Regions from separate parts of the Homo sapiens genome. Here region 2 is linked to region 1. The links are contacts of gene promoters, found by promoter capture Hi-C in human tissues and cell types (Jung and others, 2019). All regions are on one chromosome and are shown on one strand. The core of a region is centred on a gene start or on the middle of the fragment in contact, and the rest is flanking DNA. Distances in the headings are between cores, read along the strand shown. Region 1 holds the start of RPS3 (ribosomal protein S3). Region 2 overlaps UVRAG (UV radiation resistance associated).

Evidence for each region. Contacts are between HindIII fragments. The study calls those that stand out against the background at their distance.
Region 2: a fragment that was not itself captured here is called in contact with the fragment with the promoter of RPS3 in region 1 in 1 of the 25 tissues and cell types used here (spleen).

What each region holds. Positions count from the first base shown.
Region 1 is chr11:75,396,104-75,401,441 of GRCh38, reverse strand. It overlaps RPS3 (ribosomal protein S3), which reads right to left and starts at 1,924. Exons shown (of 7, transcript NM_001005.5): 1 at 1,865-1,924; 2 at 618-748. The coding sequence starts at 1,894. SNORD15A (small nucleolar RNA, C/D box 15A) reads right to left here and starts at 1,051; the gene lies at 904-1,051. RefSeq lists enhancers at 498-1,361, 1,588-1,947. The HindIII fragment of the contact is 8,937 bases long and covers 1-5,338 here.
Region 2 is chr11:75,846,393-75,851,730 of GRCh38, reverse strand. All of the region lies in intron 1 of UVRAG (UV radiation resistance associated), which reads right to left. Among named protein-coding and RNA genes, the nearest start is that of UVRAG, 34 kb to the right of the region's middle. The HindIII fragment of the contact is 5,005 bases long and covers 529-5,338 here.

The DNA of each region.
Region 1 (5,338 bases), core at 675-3,174:
ACTGCAGCCTGAACCTCTTGAGCTCAAGCCATCGCCTGCTTCAGCCTCTGGAATAGGTGGGACCACATGCATGCACCACCACACCCTTTTTTATTTTTTGTAGAGCGGGGGTTTCCCCATGTTGCCCCGGCTGATCTTGAATTCCTGAGCTTAAGTGATCCTACGCCTGGCCTTAAAATCTAGCTTTTAAGAAGCAATTACATTCACTAAGCCCAGATTCACTGTTCCGTCTGTCCCCTTAAGTTCATAAAGGATAAACCTGCCGGGCGCGGTGGCTCACGCCTGTAATCCCAGCACTTTGGGAGGCTGAGGCAGGCGGATCACGAGGTCAGGAGATCCAGACCGTCCTGGCTAACACGGTGAAACCCCAACTCTACTAAAAACACAAAAAATTAGCAAGGTATGGTGGCGGGCGCCTATAGTCCCAGCTACTCGGGAGGCTGACGCAGGAGAATGGCGTGAACCCGGGAGGCGGAGCTTGCAGTGAGCCGAGATCGCGCCACTGCACTCCAGCTTTGGGGACAGAGCAAGACTCCGTCTCAAAAAAATAAATAAATAAATAAACCAACTTAGCATTTATAACAATTATAGGTGATGGCCAGTCAAATGAGTTTTACCTGGTGGCTAAGATAATGATTTCTGTCCTGGTTGGTGTAACTCGCACCTCAACTCCAGAGTAGCCATCTTCAGCCAGCTCCCGAGTAAGAAACTCATTCAGTTCAGCTTTGAAGATGCCATCAGCGACAAACTAATCCAAACAAAGCAAAGTTCAAAATTAGGAGATCGGTGTAGGCTCACTTTCGCCTGAGCCAGTCTAGTCTTATTAGTCAATGCATCCCTCACCAAAACTAAATACCTCCAACCAATGGTTCCAAACCCTTGTTCCAACAGGAGTGCAGCAACCCTTCTCAGACAAATGCCTCTAAGTCATCTTTAGGAAATTACTTCAACCAGGGCTCTTTAAACTGTGCCACAGAACGCAGCACAGAGTAGGCCACCTGGGCAAAGAGAACATCCCCAAGTCAGACTCGTCATCATCTCTTCATCGAAGGGTTTAAAACAGTTCCACATGCAAAACAAGAAACTGCTCTAATGGCCTATTTACACTTCATTCAGCACAGCAAAGACACTGTACTTGTCACTGTTAAGGAATAGATAGTAGACTTAACATATAAGCTCTCTCACTTGTAGACACAACCTGCACCGTCTAAAGAATCCCAGCCATGTTATTTGGCTTTACGGTACCAACAGAGCTGGCAAATCCTAACTCTCGAGAAGTTGTGGATTTAATTTTGACATCGAAGTGTATATACGAAATGACAAACTGTCTATTTTTAAAGCTAATGATTTTTACACAGTTCTATCCCATGTAATGACAAGGCGTTAAATCCGAGGCAGCTTCCTCCCGGGGTCCCCAGACGGAGCAAGCAACCGTCAGCAACCCTTCAAGTTGAGGTCCTGGGGCCAGCGGACTGTACCCAGAAACGACCAGTTAAGGCAAGAATACACTGCTGCCTTCTCTTCCCAAAACCACGGGATAAGACATGAGGGAAATGACACACGCCCTCAAAATACCACGTTTACTAATTCCGTTGACCGACAAATGCTCACAAACGCCTTCTCCGGGACAGAAGGGGCGCCTGGTGCCCATCTCTCTGCGCTTCACTTGGAACCCGGCCACACAGCGCCCTCCTGGCTGGGGCCTCTCACTCAATCCACCGCCATCCGCGGCCCGCAGGAACGCCAGGAAGCCTAGGCCGCTTCCAGGGCAGGCCACGGAGCTGCAGGCCTCGCGGTGGCACCCCGAGAAGCCCTCGACCCGCGCGGCGCCGTCGTTCTCCGAACCCAGTCCCCAGAGGCTCACCTTCCTCTTCTTGGATATTTGCACTGCCATCTTGCCGCCGCGCTCCGCTGAAAGGAAAGGAAGTGGCTCGCGGGCGGAAGTGAGTATAAAGGGCGCGAGCGACGACGGAGGGCTGCGCTGCGTGCACGCCTGTGGGTGCTCATGGGAAATGTAGTTTTTACGTAAGTAAGGCGTCCAGGGAAAGAAGAATGTAGGCAGGAACAGGAAAGGGGCTTCATCCAGCAGGACTTCTAAACTTCAGGGGACCTTAGAGTTCAATTCTCATAGTTTCAAAACAAGCAATGTGAGGTGCAGAGGTGGAAATTACAGGTATAAGTTCACACAGCAAGAGAGATTAACCAGCGTGGAACTCTGGCCCCTACACTTTCAGGGTGGACACTGTAATGAAAATCTGCTGAAATCCCTCAGTGAAACTCATTTAAGACTCCTCTTTGGGAGGCCAAGGCGGGCGGATTACTTGAGGTCAGGAGTTCGAGATTAGCCTGGCGAACATGGTGAAACCCCGTCTCTACTAAAAATAGAAAAATTAGCTGGGAGTGGTGTCGGGCACCTGTAATCCCAGCTACTCGGGAGGCTGAGGTGGGAGGATTGCTTGGACCTGGGAGATGGAGGTTGCAGTGGGCCAAGATCCTACCACTGCACTCTAGCCTGGACCACAGAGTGAGACTCTGTCTCAAACAAACAAACAAACAAACAAACAAAACAACTCATGTCCCCCAGTCTGTACCCATTTCCTCCATTCCAAATGATAATAATAAAACCTGATACTTACTAAGTGTCCTAGGGACTGCGTTCTGTGTCCTTTATGTTGTTCTCATTTACCCCACCTTACTTTCATCAAGTCCATTACAATTTGTAACAGAAGTCCCAGAAGGTCCCATGGGCCCGCCCTTCCTTCCTTCCTTCCTTCCTTCCTCTCTCTTTCTCTCTCTCTTTCTCTCCTTTCTTTCTTTTCTCTCCGGTTGCCCAAGCTGGAGTGCAGTAGTACGATCTCAGCTCCCTGCAACCTCCACTTCCCAGGTTCAAGTGATTCTTCTGCCTTGGCCTCCTGAGTAGCTGGGATTACAGGTGCACACCACCACACCCAGCTAATTTTTGTATTTTTAGTAGAGATGAAGTTTCACTATGTTGGCCAGGCTGGTCTTGAACTCCTGACCTCAAGTGATCCACCTGCCTTAGCCTCCCAGAGTGCTGGGATTACAGGCATGAGCCACCGTGCCTGGCCTTCTTTTTCAATTAAAAAAAATTCTAGCCAGGTGCAGTGGCTCAGGCCTGTAATCTTAGCACTTTGGGAGGCCAAGGCAAGTGGATAGCTTGAGGCCAGAAGTTTGAGACCAGTCTGGGCAACAGAATGAGACACCCTCATCTCTATGAAAAGTGAAAAAAGAAAATTATCCAGGTGTGGTGGTGTGTGCCTGTAGTCCCAGCTACTCTGGAGGGAGATGTGAGAGGATTGCTTGAGTACAGGAGGTCTAGGCTGCAGTGAGCCGTGATTGTGCCACTGCACTCAGCCCGGGCAACAGAGTGAGACTCAGTCTAAAAAAAATAAAAAATTAAAAATGTCCCTTCATTTTTTAATGAAGCTTACAGAACAGTTGAAAAAACTGTACGTGTATGCATCACCAAGCTGAGGGGGAATTGAGAATGATGCTACAATTAATATTTTGCTGTTGCTTTATCGTGGATCTACTCATCCCTGTAGCCACCCACCAATACATCTTTTGAGGCATTTCAAAGTAAGTTGCAGACATTGGTAAACTTTACCCCTAAACACTTCAATAACAGTTTTATTTTATTTATTTATTTATTTTTGAGACGAAGTCTTACTCTGTTGCCTAAGCTGGAGTGCAGTGGTGCGATCGCCGCTCACCGTAACCTCCACCTCCCGGGTTCAAGCGATTCTCCTGCCTCAGCCTCCTGAGTAGCTGGGACTACAGGCAAGCACCGCCATGTCCAGCTAATTTTCATATTTTTAGTAGAGATAGGGTTTCACTATGTTGGCCAGGCTTGTCTTGAACTCCTAACCTTGTGATCCGCCCACCTCGGCCTCCAAAAGTGCTGGGATTACAGGCGTGAGCCACCGCACCCAGCCAACAGTTTTATTTTAAGTTTGAATAGTTTTCTTCATTTAAAAGTCAGGGTATTTCTCTCTAAAACTATTTTAGGTTTTTCTTAAGGATATAGAAATATCTAGCAAAATAGTGAACCCACATTTCTTCATGGGCAGTGCTCTCCTTTCCTGTTACACAAAAAGAGTCTTTCCAAGGTGCCACACTCCCTGGCAGCACCACTCAGTTATTTTCTGGTCCTAGAAGCCATTGGAGTGTTTAACTCCAGCTCTAAAACAACTCTGATGTAAAGTGACCTGTCCTATAATCACGGAATTAACAGAGTTCTGTGGTTGCTGAGCAGAGGGACCAGGGAAGATGACAAAAAGTGGATGGGCGCGGTGGCTCATGCCTGTAATCCCAGCACTTTGGGAGGCCGAGGCAGGTGGATCACCTGAGGTCGTGAGTTTGAGACCAGCCTGGCCAGCATAGTGAAACCCCATCTCTACTAAAAATACAAAAATTAGCCTAGTGTGGTGGTGCACGCCTGTAATCCCAGCTACTTGGGAGGCTGAGGCATGAGAGTCACTTGAACCCGAGAGGTGGAATTGCAGTAAGCCATGGTCAAAGCCACTGCCCTCCAGTCTGGGTGACAGAGCGAGACCCCGTCTCAAAGAAAAAAAAAGAAAAGAAAGGAAAAGAAGTGGATGAACCAAAGAACCAAAGAGATGGTAGCTGTGGATCTATCTTTTTTTTTTTTTTTGAGACAAAGTTTCCCTTTGTTGTCCAGGCTAGAGTGCAGTAGCGCAATCTCGGCTCACTGCAACCTCTGCCTCCTGGGTTCAAGCGATTCTCCTGCCTCAACCTCCCGAGTAGCTGGGATTACAGGCATGCACCACCACTGGCTAATTTTTGTGTTTTTAGTAGAGACAGGGTCTCACCATGTTGGCCAGGCTGGTCTCGAACTCCTGACCTCAGATGATCCACCCACCTCGGCCTCCCAAAGTGCTGGGATTACAGGCGTGAAGCACTGTGCCCAGCAGAAGCCCTAGTTTCTGACTTCAGTTGTGAATGCTTGGCGACAATCCTTACCAAGATGAGGAACCTAGGAATAAGTTGTTTTTCTTCCCCCCCCCACCCCCCATCCATCTGTTATCTCTCTCTGCTCTTCATGTGCCTCTTCATCCAACTCCTTGGTCTGTCTATAGAGTGGGGCCAGGTTGCTGAAAACATGAGCCTGGTAAATCCACCTGCCTATGGATTCACTAGAGATGTGGGCGCTGAGGGAGAGCACCTGGCCTTGCGTGCTGGGATCAGAGTAAAATCACAGCAGGCTCCTAGACCCTCTCAGTGAATCGCTTCTATTTTTCATTCCCATATGCCTCACATTCTCCCACGGTCCCTATTATAATCTTTGACAAAGCTA
Region 2 (5,338 bases), core at 1,782-4,281, 450 kb before region 1:
AGCATCCCCTCTGTCAAACAGGAATTATACCTGCCCTATCTCATTTACAAGGTGGTTGGAGAATGAAGTGACAACAGACATGAAATATTTTTGAAAAGGACCAACGTTATGTAAGTGCTATATACCCGCATAATAGCATTAGTATTCCCTGGAACATAAACTAAGTAGTAATTTGGTTTTCTCCACAGAGGGATTCTGATAGACATATAAAATCCATCTCATACCAACAGATAATCACCAGTTAACACATACACTCACCCCTGATGCTAGTTCAGTCTAGATGCCAGATTATCTATACAAGCAGGAAAACAAGGCCACAGCCAAAAAATAAAAATAGTGACTCACTGGTCACTCCATCCACCCCATCCAGCCAATAAAGCAACTGCTGTGAGCTTCCATTCGATTCTCATTTCACCAGTCTCAATTTCATAATCAGGCCTCCTTCCTAACAATTTCTCCAACCAGACTCTTTAATGATTTGAAATCATAAGTTTAGAAATGGAAAAGCTTCATAAGCAATAGTAGAAATCAACAAAAATACAAAATAAGCTTAAGGGATAGCCAAATCAACTCATATATCAAAAAGAGAATGTTGGCAACGCTGAAGTCTGGGCACAGCAGATTCATCCCCAAAAGCTAGTTCCCTATGTCAGATCATTATCTTCAGAGACTTAAAAATAGAAACCAAGTGCTCACACTTAAAATGTGCTTAAAGCTCTCCCGCAGGCTGAAAGCCAGTTCACTCTCCTGAGGTAAGTCCACTTTCAATTACAGGCACAGTCAGCCAAAAGAGCCCAGGTCTTTTTCCCGTGCACATACCAACCCAATCCTTTCTCCCAATCTAGAGATTAAGATTCTTTGAGAGAGAAGGTTATTGTCTAATAAATTTGTTTAATCCTCTAAGTATGAAAAGCCTCAAATGTATTTACAAAAAGTTTCCTGGGCTTACTCTAAAAGACTCATTTTTCCACAATCTGCCAATGGTTTCCATTTCACACCCTGGATTACAGCAACAATTTTCTCCTGCTACACACTTTTCATTAGCCCTTTCAGTCAAAACTTTAAAAACAGGAACCACTAATTATCTGCATACAATAATCACATCTATTTTGCTATAAGATTACAATCCTGCTCCTCTGTTCAAAGACCTGAAAACATCTGGAATATCTAGGATAATGTACAAAAACATCCCATCATTGTGTTCAAAGCCCTCTACAGTCTAACTTCTCTATATACCATCCTTACTTCCCACCAGCTCTTCCACATACCCAACCCCTCAGTCACACATGACTGCTTAAAGTCCATCAAAAAGACCATGAACTTTCCTAGCTCCATGCATTTGCTGATGGTAGACCTCAATGCCATCCCGCTCTTTAAGGAGATCCTATGCATATTTCAAAGTTTAGGAAAGAAGATTCCTGCCCTTCCTGATTTTCCAATTGAAATTGAGGCAGGAGAATAGGGTCTCCAGGGACCTAAGGCAACCCTAGAACTAAATCTAAAGGAAAACCCCAACTTTCCATGCCTAAATAACAAAAGGACCAAAGGCTACACCCTTTGCAAACTCCCCATTCTGGCTGGGTGCTTTCCATAACCAATCAGATGCTTGCATAGGAGTGTAACTTTGTAACTTCAGCCTCTGATTGGCTGCTTTCTGCAACCAATCAGACTGATTGCAGGCCACCACTTCATTTGCATGGTGTGAACACCAAGTGGCCAATGGGAAACCTCTGGGGGTATGTGGGTCCTAGAAGATTCTGTAAGGGGGCTCTCCAGGGGCTGCAAGGCCCACTCCCACCTTGCTGAATGTACTTTCATTCTCAATAAATCTCTGCTTTCATTGCTTCACTCTTTGCTTGCTTTGCTGTTAATTTTGTCCAATTCTTTGTTCAAAACACCTAGAACCTGGAGAACTTTCAGTCAAGACCCGCTACCAGTAACAAAATTAGTTGCTCCCTTATTAGGACAAGTAAGAACTTTGCTTCTATCTCTACTATAGCACTTATTTTGTTCGGCCTTTATTATAGTTAATTGTTTACCGTTATCTTCCCTATTAATCTAGCATTAAAAGGCTTGATAGAAACCACAACCATCACTGTACTGTCAGCATTTATTAAATGTTTACCTTGTGTCATGTACTGTGCTAAATATGTGCTTCATACATGTGAACATTTAATTCTCATAACAACCCTACAAGGTTAACTATTACTCATTATCATTAATTTTTTTTTTTTTTTGAGATGGAGTCTCGCTCTGTCGCCCAGGCTGGAGTGCAGTGGCGCAATCTCGGCTCTCTGCAAGCTCCGCCTCCCAGGTTCATGCCATTCTCCTGCCTCAGCCTCCCAAGTAGCTGGGACTACAGGCACCCGGCTAATTTTTTTGTATTTTTAGTAGAGAGGGGGTTTCACTGTGTTAGCCAGGATGGTCTCAATCTTCTGACCTCGTGATCCGCCCGCCTTGGCCTCCCAAAGTGCTGGGATTACAGGTGTGAGCCACCACCCGCCCGTCCATCATTATTCATTTCTTTATCTCAACATTTTTTTTTTCTTTTGAGAGGGAGTCTCGCTCTGTCTCGCCCAGGCTGGAGTGCAATGGCGCCATGTCGGCTCACTGCAGCCTCCGCATCCTGGGTTCAAGTGATTCTCCTGTCTCACGCTCCCAAGTAGCTGCGACTACAGGCATGTGCCACCACACTTGGCTAATTTTGTATTTTTAGTAAAGACAGGGTTTCACCATGTTGGCCAGGCTGGTCTCGAACTCCTGACCTCAGGTGATCGACCTGCCTCAGCTCCCCAAAGTGCTGAGATTACAGTTGTGAGCCACCACACCCAGCCTAGTCTTACATTTCTAAGTAACCAAATATAAAACAAAGAAAATAATAAATGACAGGAGATATCTCAAAAGAAGGAAAGAATGCAGAAAGAAAGCCAAGGATTACATCCTATATACGTGGATATGTATCTCCATCTAAATACTACATATACCTAAAAGATATAATTTGTCTTCATACTCCTTTATTACTACAGAACACAAGGAAATAACCAATTCTTCAACTCAAAAGAATAACTTTATGACACATGCAATTACCATGGAATTGACTGCCTTACAAAGCAGTGTGCAGGGCTTGGACGGAGATCGAATCTATAATAGATGCATGGATATTATTATCAAAGAGATCTCTGCATTATGTAGCAACTGTGGGAAATTAGCACGACCACCTCCAAGATACCTTCTGATTCTAAACTCTATGATTTTCATCTGGGTGATTACCAGTGTAATCCATTAATGCGAATAAACAGAACAAACCACATTCAGACCATTTTATAAAAAGGTTTACAAAAAACAAACTCCATAAACTGACCAACTATAATTAAAGCACTGACTGTGGGCTGTATGACTTTTTGCCCTTTTCCTTTATTTTACTTATTTCAAAAGCATTAGGGTAAGTATTCTCATTATACCATAATTAATTAAAATCCAAGATACTTCCAGCAACTGGAATGGACAAAGGAAAGAAACTTTTTTTTTTTTTTTGAGACAGGGTCTCTCTCTGTCCCCCAGGCTGGAGTACAGTGGTAGATCGTAGCTCACTGCAGCCTCAACCTCCCAGGCTCAAGCAATCCTCCCACCTCAGTCTCCCAAGTAGCTGGGACCACAGGCATATGCCACCATGCCCAGCTAAATTTTTTTTTTTTTTTTTAGAGACAGAGTCTCCCTATGTTGCCCGTGCTAATAAATCCTTTTTTCTTTTTTTTTTTTTTGAGACACAGTCTCACTCTGTTGCCAGGCTGGAGTGCAGTGGTGCGATCTCGGCTCACTGCAATCTCCGCCTCCCGGGTTCAAGCATTTCCCCAGCCTCAGCCTCCTGAGTAGCTGGGACTGTAGGCGCATACCACCACACCCAGCTAATTTTTTGTATTTTAGTGGAGACGGGGTTTCACCATGTTGGCCAGGATGGTCTCGATCTCCTGACCTCGTGATCCGCCCACCTCAGCCTCCCAAAAGTGCTGGGATTACAGGCGTGAGCCACCGTGCCCAGTCGCTAATAAACTCTTTATGGGTAAATTACTGATGCAATCTTGGTAAAAGGCAGTAAGTGTACATGTAAACCCTCTTGTGCCCTAGGTCTGGCCTTCTTTTTTAATAACGTTCATTCCAGAGCCAGGCACAGTGGCTCATAACTGTAATCCCAGCACTTTGGGAGGCCAAAGCAAGAGGATCACTTGAGCCCAGGAGTTCAAGATCAGCCTAGGCAACAACATAGTGAGACCCTATCTCTAGAAAAAATAAAAATAAATTAGCTGGGCTGGGCACAGTGGCTCATACCTGTAATACTAGCACTTTGGGAGGCCGAGGCGGGTGGATCATTTGAGGTCAAGAGTTCAAGACCAGCCTGGCCAATATGGTGAAACCCGTCTCTACTAAAGATACAAAAGTTAGCCAGGCGTGGTGGCACACACCTGTAATCTCAGCTACTTGACAGGCTGAGGCAGGAGACTCACTTGAACCCCGGAGTTGGACGTTGCAGTAAGCCGAGATCACGCCACTGCACTCCAGCCTGGGTAACAGAATGAGTGAGACTCCATCTCAAGAAAACAAAAGAACAGGCCAGGCACGGTGGCCCATACCTGTAATCCCAGCATTTTGGGAGGCCGAGGTGGGTGGATCACCTGAGGTCAGGAGTTCGAGAGTAGCCTGGCTAACATGGCAAAACCCCATCTCTACTAAAAATACAAAAAATTAGCCGGGCGTGGTGGCACACACCTGTAATCACAGCTACTCAGGAGGCTAAGGCAGGAGAATCGCCTGAACAAGGGAGGCAGAGGTTGCAGTGAGCTGAGATCATGTCACTGCACTATAGCCTATGCGACAGAGCAAGACTCCGTCTCAAAAAAAAAAAATGAAAGAACAAAGTCAGAGAACTGACATTACTATAAAGCTACAGTAATCAAGGCAGGATGGTATTGGCAAAAGAAGAGACAAACAGACGAGAACAGAATAGAGAGCCTAGAAATACACTTACACAAATACAGTCAACTATTCTTTGATAAAGGCTCAAACACAATTCAAAGACAACAGCCAAGTCTTTTCAACAAATGGTGCTGAAAGTGGACATTCACATGCAAAAAAAAAAAAATGAATGTAGACACAGATTTATACTTTTCACAAAAATTAACTTAAAATGAATCGGAGACCTCAGTGAAAATGCAAAACTATAAAAGTCCTAGAAGATAACATAGGAAAAAATTTTGGTGATCTTGGGTTTGTGAGGACTTTCTAGATACAACACCAAAGGCATAATTCATAAAAGATGAAACTGATAAATGGGACTTAATTA